Regions from separate parts of the Homo sapiens genome. Here region 2 is linked to region 1. Evidence: promoter capture Hi-C in 16 types of primary human blood cells and fetal thymus (Javierre and others, 2016). All regions are on one chromosome and are shown on one strand. Each heading gives the region's core, a stretch centred on a gene start or on the middle of the fragment in contact. The rest is flanking DNA. Distances are from core to core; before and after follow the strand shown.

Region 1 (3,390 bases), core at 621-3,120:
CTGAGGTTTACTTAACTTGAGATGTTTTTTACAAAACACACGTTGAAAGAATTGTATTGTACTTTAAGAGAATTCAAAATTATGTATCCTCAATTTTTTCATAGGCATTTAAGGAAATTGTTTAAAGCAAAAGTGGAGCTGTTCAACAACACATGTACAACAGCATTGAAAATGGATCTCTGGATTTTTAAAAAACTCTATCCAAGTTTCTGTTAATGAATATTTTACAGAGAAGGAAAATTTGGAAAATACTATACAATAATAAAAATAAAGTTAAAAATGACTCTATCTTCCTTGTACTACACACTCAGTAAAAAGAAATGCCACAATTGGAGAACCCATTGGCTTAATTTTACCTAGAACCTAAATTATACAAGAGATCTTTTCTCACTATTTGTTAGAGACATAATCTGTTTTAGGAATTTATGAACAATGTATACCAAAATCCTTATAACTATTGCATTATTACAACAAGTAGTTTCAAGTTAATAAACACAGTGCTTAATCAATAACCCAGTTTTTCTTCCAGAAGTATGTGAATCTTTAATCTCATATAACTTTCAGATAAAATCATAATTATAGAAAAGTTTGTTTTTTCTCATAAGATTTAAAAAGTAGAAGCTGAAAGTTATGTTCTGATGATTAAAATAAATTTAAAATTTTGTATAAATCACATTTATATCTTCTTAGATTTTAATTTCATAATTTAAATCAAATGATAGCATGAGTTTGAGTTAAACATTTCCATGTCATATTTATGATACATAAAAGCACAGAACAGGTTAAATTATTTTTGCTGCATTTGCTTCCTAATGTGTTCTTTTCCCTTTGAAGTGTTCATTGTAATATTTCTTAAATATTAAGTAGAGCCTTTTGCAATGGTTGTAATATTTCATGTTATACCTTTCAATTTAAGTCTTATTTTCAAAGTGAGTTATTCGTAGATACTTAGGACTATATAACTTCTTTCAAACCACATGCAAAACACTCTAAAGTCAAATAATTTCCATCAATATAAGAATACCAATTTTCCAATTGTATTTTGTATTAACTTAAATGGCATGGAAAAAATGCCAAACAGTTATATTAATAGCACACTTATTAGACTATGCAAATTCTGTTCTCAAAAAGGATCTGGAATATTTTTGTATTTTTCTAGAAATAATTTTCTACAAATAATGCTTCATTTTTCACTAAGTATCAATTTTCACTTTATTTGTTATCTTAACACAAACAAGAAAATAATACGGGGACTATTACAAGGGCGTGAGGGCCACCGCTTCCTAAGAGAATGAATGAGGATGAGAGTAAAACATTTTGAATGGAATGGGATTTAATGATGGGTTTGCAGGTTGACAGCCACTGCCTCTGTATTTCTCATTAGATAATGATCAGCCTAATTGAAAGTTTTGTAGGGTTTTTTTCCCTCTAGTTGTTGAATTCCAAAGGAGGTCGTGCAGTGTTTCATTGAAATCCCTTTTATTGCTTTGCAGATTTTAAAAGAGAAAATACATCTCTCAGTAATCATAAAGGCAGAGAAAGAGATACTCAGTTTCTGTCACTAAAAGGTAAATCCTGAATAAAAGGGAGCAACTCTTCTCCCCAGATACATTAACATAAGTAGCAACACACTGCAAAAGAGAAAAAAGAAATCACTTCAGGGAGTTGTGAAATTCTGTTTTGCTTACCTGAGCACAGACTCCAGGAGCTGAAAGCCAGGAGTAGCATGCATACAAGCTGGATTTTCATTCCTGCCATCATCTTTCAGCCTTCTAACAAGCCAAGTCCGTAAAAGTCAGAAGCACACTGAAGGGGGCTCTCTCTAGCACTTCCTCTTTCCTTCAGCTGGCTTTGAAAGTGAGTGAACTATGAGAGGTGCTCTGGCCATTCCCCTATATATATAAGCAGGAGGATGATGTCATTGATTGTACAGACATTATCTTTGCAGGATGTGCCCTATCTTCACCTCCATCCCTCCCCTCTTTGCCCTGCTTTCTCCTCCCCTTTTCCTTTGTCCCCCCTGCTCTCCTCCCCCATTTCTGAACCTTGAGTGAAAGTGACGATCTTCCCTAATTGCTGCTGCTGCTGCTTTGGATTTCTGACGCACAGAAGGAGTCATTCAACTGCACTGACATACAGCATACATACAGCATACTGACAAAGAACCCCCAGTATCATCCTTTTCCCACTTCTCATTCCCCCACTCCAAAAGTTGTCATTTTGATTTTGTGAAACATGAGATCTGTTATTTCTAATTTTTAAGGAAAATCTCCAGGATGAATGCATGAAATCAGTGATTCCTTAGGCTTGGAAGTTCTTGAAGAGTTAGGGTGCTTCTCTGGTAATTCAAACTTCTGAGCAAATGTTTAGTGGTTCCAAAACTAATACAGGTTTTAAATAATCCATGCTGGAATAAGATGGAATAGAGACAGAGAATCAGTTATAAAAATTAAGCAATTAAGTTTAGAGAATAGAAAGAAAATCAATAAAAAGAAATAATAGATCCAGGGAATAAGATATTATTTCCTAACAAATAGAAAATATTTTATTGTAAGTAATGAGAGATGACTGAACTATGTGTGCTGACTTTTGGTTGAATGTATTAGAAAAACAATTTCATGTTTATAAAATCCAGCTCTAAATTACTTACATTCTAGCAGGTAAAAATTTGTGTTGTTGTATCACTGACTTTTTTTCTGTACATTATCTCTTTTTATGCCTATATTTTTCTGCTCTTTTTGAATTCATTCTTGATGCCATGTCTCACTCTTTGTATAATTCCCTTCTCAACAGTTTTTACTATTGCATCGGCTTTCTTTCCCTGTTATAATACTCTTTTCACCATAAAAAAAGAGATTGTACTTTTGGAAAGGAGACAATCCTAAATAACCACCATTCACCAAAGTCACTTTTCTATGATAGTCTTCATGTATTTCATGAGTTACACTGATACCCATTCTTTGTCTGAGTTCTCAAAAGAAAATTGTTCAAAATGCCTTTTAGAGTAAAACTTTCTTCTTGTAGTAAGCATTTCAAGATACATGGGGTAATTTGACAAGTCAGTGCTGTTAGAGATGTGAATATTTGAATGTAAAGTTGTCTGAGTCTTGTTTAATTTTTAAATAAATCAATCATGTAGTAACAGTTGAGAAAAAATAGGATTGGTTCCTATAGATAATTGATTTATATTATACAATCTATGAGTTTAACTTTTTCACCTTTACCCAAAACTTAAGCAAAGCGATTAAATCCAAACATTTAATAATTACTTAGAATAGCAAGGAGTCTTTCATATAATACCAGAAATTTAATAATAACTGATATATTTATTACTTTTAGTTTGTTTTCTGAACTTACATAAAACACAATATTGAACATACTCACATGGAG
Region 2 (3,390 bases), core at 333-2,832, 2.1 Mb before region 1:
AACGTTAGCATTTTACCACATTTGAATTTTCACTCTCTCTAAATATACACATTGTTATTATAATCTTCTGAATTGTTCGAGAGAATAAGTTACAGACATGATACCTCTTTGCTTTTACATTAACTGTAGTATAAATATAAAAATCAGAAAATAACCACTGATAGAATATCATTTATAACCTTCTTTTCCCACAAATTTTACCAATTATGCCATTAATGTGCTTTATAGTAAAATAAATTTTTTCCCCTAGTCTAGGATCCAATCCAGAATCACACATTGCATTAGGTTGTCATGTCTCTTTTATTTTGCTTTTAATAGTTTATTTTAGAAGAAAATTATCCAGAAATGCATGGGGAAAGCTGAGAGTATTATTTAATTATCAGTGTAGTTAGCATTTTGTAGTCAATAGTGACTCTAATACTTTTTATCTGATTGTTCATGGTGAACAGATAAAATCAAAAGTAATATTACAAAATTCCTTATATGAGAAACATATCAAACTAGATATATTATGTATATACAATAGTGTTAGATTGCTTACAATTTTTAATTGCCATTGAATAAATAATCCAAATAGGAGAATATACTTGCTTACTTCTTTGTTGACACAGAATTTAAAACTCATGTATTTATTAATTTATTGTTTATCAGATCACTGTGCAAACAATACTTGCATTAACTTTAAAGCTTTTTTACTTTCATCATGCATTCTATCATAAATTTCTTATTTAAGCATCTAATAATTTCTGGGGTGACTTTTTTTTCTTCTTATTTCTAGGAGATAGTCTTACAGTTCCGACAAAACTTAGCCAATATGAAAGGCAAGGTGAAATAAAAACATCATTGCATGGGAAACCAAAGACTGACATTGCTGCTTTTGAAAATGGAGGTGAGTTAATTTATTACTGATTGACCCTGAATATATCACCACATAATAAATGAGTCTGAATTTTATCTTTTACAACTAATTTTCTTTTTTTGTCCATGTCATGTTTAACACAAGAGTTTGGAGGTATATCACAAAATCAGTTGCTTTCAGAGACCAAAATCTCTGCCAAATACCTTGTGCGAATTTGTGTTCAGTGTATAAGACATTCCATTTTTCATATTTTAATGAGAAACCTGTGTGTGTGTGTGCATGTATGTGTGTGTGTGTGTGTCTGTGTGTAGGCTCAACTCCAGACTATAATGAATTCAGGTGTTATGTATGTGCTGTAATATACTATAACAGAGCTATAAATGAAGGAGGCACTTAATAAATCATTTGATTAAGTCTACTTTTTATTTATCTACTTATTTATTTATTTATTTATTTATTTATGAGATGGAAGTCTCACTTTGTCACCTAGGCTGGAGTGCAGTGGTGCGATCTCGGCTCACTGCAACCTCCATCTCCCGAGTTCAAGCTATTCTCCTGCCTCAGCCTCCTAAGTAGCTGGCACTACAGGTGCGTGCCACCACACCCGGCTAATTTTTGTATTTTTAGTAGAGACGGGGTTTCACCATGTTGGTCAGGCTGGCCTCAAACTCCTTACCTCAGGTGATTTGCCCGCCTTGGCCTCCCAAAGTGCTGGGATTACAGGCACGAGCCACCGAGCCCAGTGGACTTAAAGTCTACTTTAAAGGAGCTATATTCAAATATATATCATTTGTCATCACATTCTAACTGTGTATTATAGCTTAAATATTTTGGAACTGCTTTTTAGCATAAACATGTTGGAAAATCTGTCCTTTGACTGAAAATTCCAAGCGTTTGTTTTGAAAATATATAGAGATTTTGTGGGGAGGTTGAAAGGTGTGGCTGATGGGAAGAATGTGTGTGAAGAGTAGGAAGGAGGTTGAGAGCAGGTATCAGTAAGTACCAGTATCTCTTAGGCATATTGGTGATACTTTCTGCTGTCCTGGTGTCAGCCATTTTCTTCTGTGTGCCCCCCACTGCCCTTTTTTTTTGGTGCTAAGGTAATTTGATTATTTTTTCTCCTTTCTTACATCTGCAGCAGTTTTAGTCTAGCTGTTTTAGTCTAGCTGTAATTGTTTTAGTCTAGCTGTAATTGTTTGGTTGCCTTGAAGCAATAAGTTTTAGCTACAAATTAGAAACACTGGCAGTCTCTCCTAACGGAGTTCCCACTGTCTATTTAACCTATATAAGTGGGATCCACTTAACCCGAGCAGTTCTAATCGAACAGTTTGTTGAAATATCATTAAATCAGATAGCTTTTTTGGTTAATAAAAGGTTATTTTTAACCATTGATAGACTAATGGTTTCATATAAAAATAAACTTTCCTTCACGTTGTAACATTAATAATATATTACCTACTTTGTTGGGAGTTAGAAAATGTGAGAATGTCATTATACTGTCATTAGCCTAATATTAATAATATTGTTAGAGTAATGAACTAGTTGAAAAACCATACTAAAAGAATATTTAAAAAATTCCATTATCTGGTATACTAAGTTCTGGTATAGTCAAGCTTATTGATTTTCCAGGCATCATAATGTTCTCTGTGTCACTAGATAAAATAATCTTCTGGGTATGTGTATATGATAGATATATCTAAACATATTTAGGCTCCTGCATTCATAAGACATCTTTGAAATGAAGATGATCAAAACTGAAATTATAATTAATGAATTAGTATTCATTTCAAGAAAAATACTTGAGGCATTGTCTTGTCTTAATATTATTTTAATGTGTTATTGCACTTTAATAAAGTTCACAGATCTGAAGTGAATAGCTTGTTAAAATTTTACTTGTGTATGTATCAATATAACCATATTTATGGTACTCCAGATGGCTCTTTCTCTCCAAGTCAATAGTCTTCTCCCAGTGGTAACCAGTACTCTGGTCGCTATTACTATAGGCTAATTTTGCATTTTTTGACCTTTATATAAGTGGAAATATACAGTTTGAACTCTTAGTTTGGATTCTTTTACTTAATGCTCTTTGTATTAGACTGATCCATGATGTTGATTGTAGCAGTAAATCTCTATAGATAGATAGATATATACCACATATATACACACATATCTACATGTAAGACATATACTGTATATGTGTACATATATATGAAAACAAACGTGGGCATTTCTCTCTCTATGTATATAGTATATATATACACACAGTTGATACACACACAAACACACACACAATTGATTCTTGTTATTCCTGGTTGCTATATATAAAGCTGACATGAACACTGAATTAGCAAACACTGAACCATTGCTCCTCGGGGAACTATGTACACACACACATATACCTACATCTCACACAGATTATAATCTTAAATCGTAGAAATTACTCATCCTGGTATATTCTGTTTTCCTTATTTTACAAAAGAGAAAACAAAGTTCAGAAGTCTTAAGTGACTCTCTTGAGGTTGCCTCACTAA

What was found. Contacts are between HindIII fragments. The CHiCAGO score rates a contact against its expected background, and 5 or more counts as called.
Region 2: a contact is called between a fragment that was not itself captured here and the fragment with the promoter of NTS in region 1, in 1 of 17 cell types (endothelial precursors). The highest score is 5.5, in endothelial precursors.

What each region holds. Positions count from the first base shown.
Region 1 is chr12:85,872,775-85,876,164 of GRCh38, reverse strand. It overlaps NTS (neurotensin), which reads right to left and starts at 1,870. Exons shown (of 4, transcript NM_006183.5): 1 at 1,689-1,870. The coding sequence starts at 1,761. The HindIII fragment of the contact is 11,906 bases long and covers 1-3,390 here.
Region 2 is chr12:87,992,132-87,995,521 of GRCh38, reverse strand. C12orf50 (chromosome 12 open reading frame 50) reads left to right here. Exons shown (of 13, transcript NM_152589.3): 7 at 779-889. Among named protein-coding and RNA genes, the nearest start is that of C12orf50, 36 kb to the left of the region's middle. The HindIII fragment of the contact is 1,785 bases long and covers 690-2,474 here.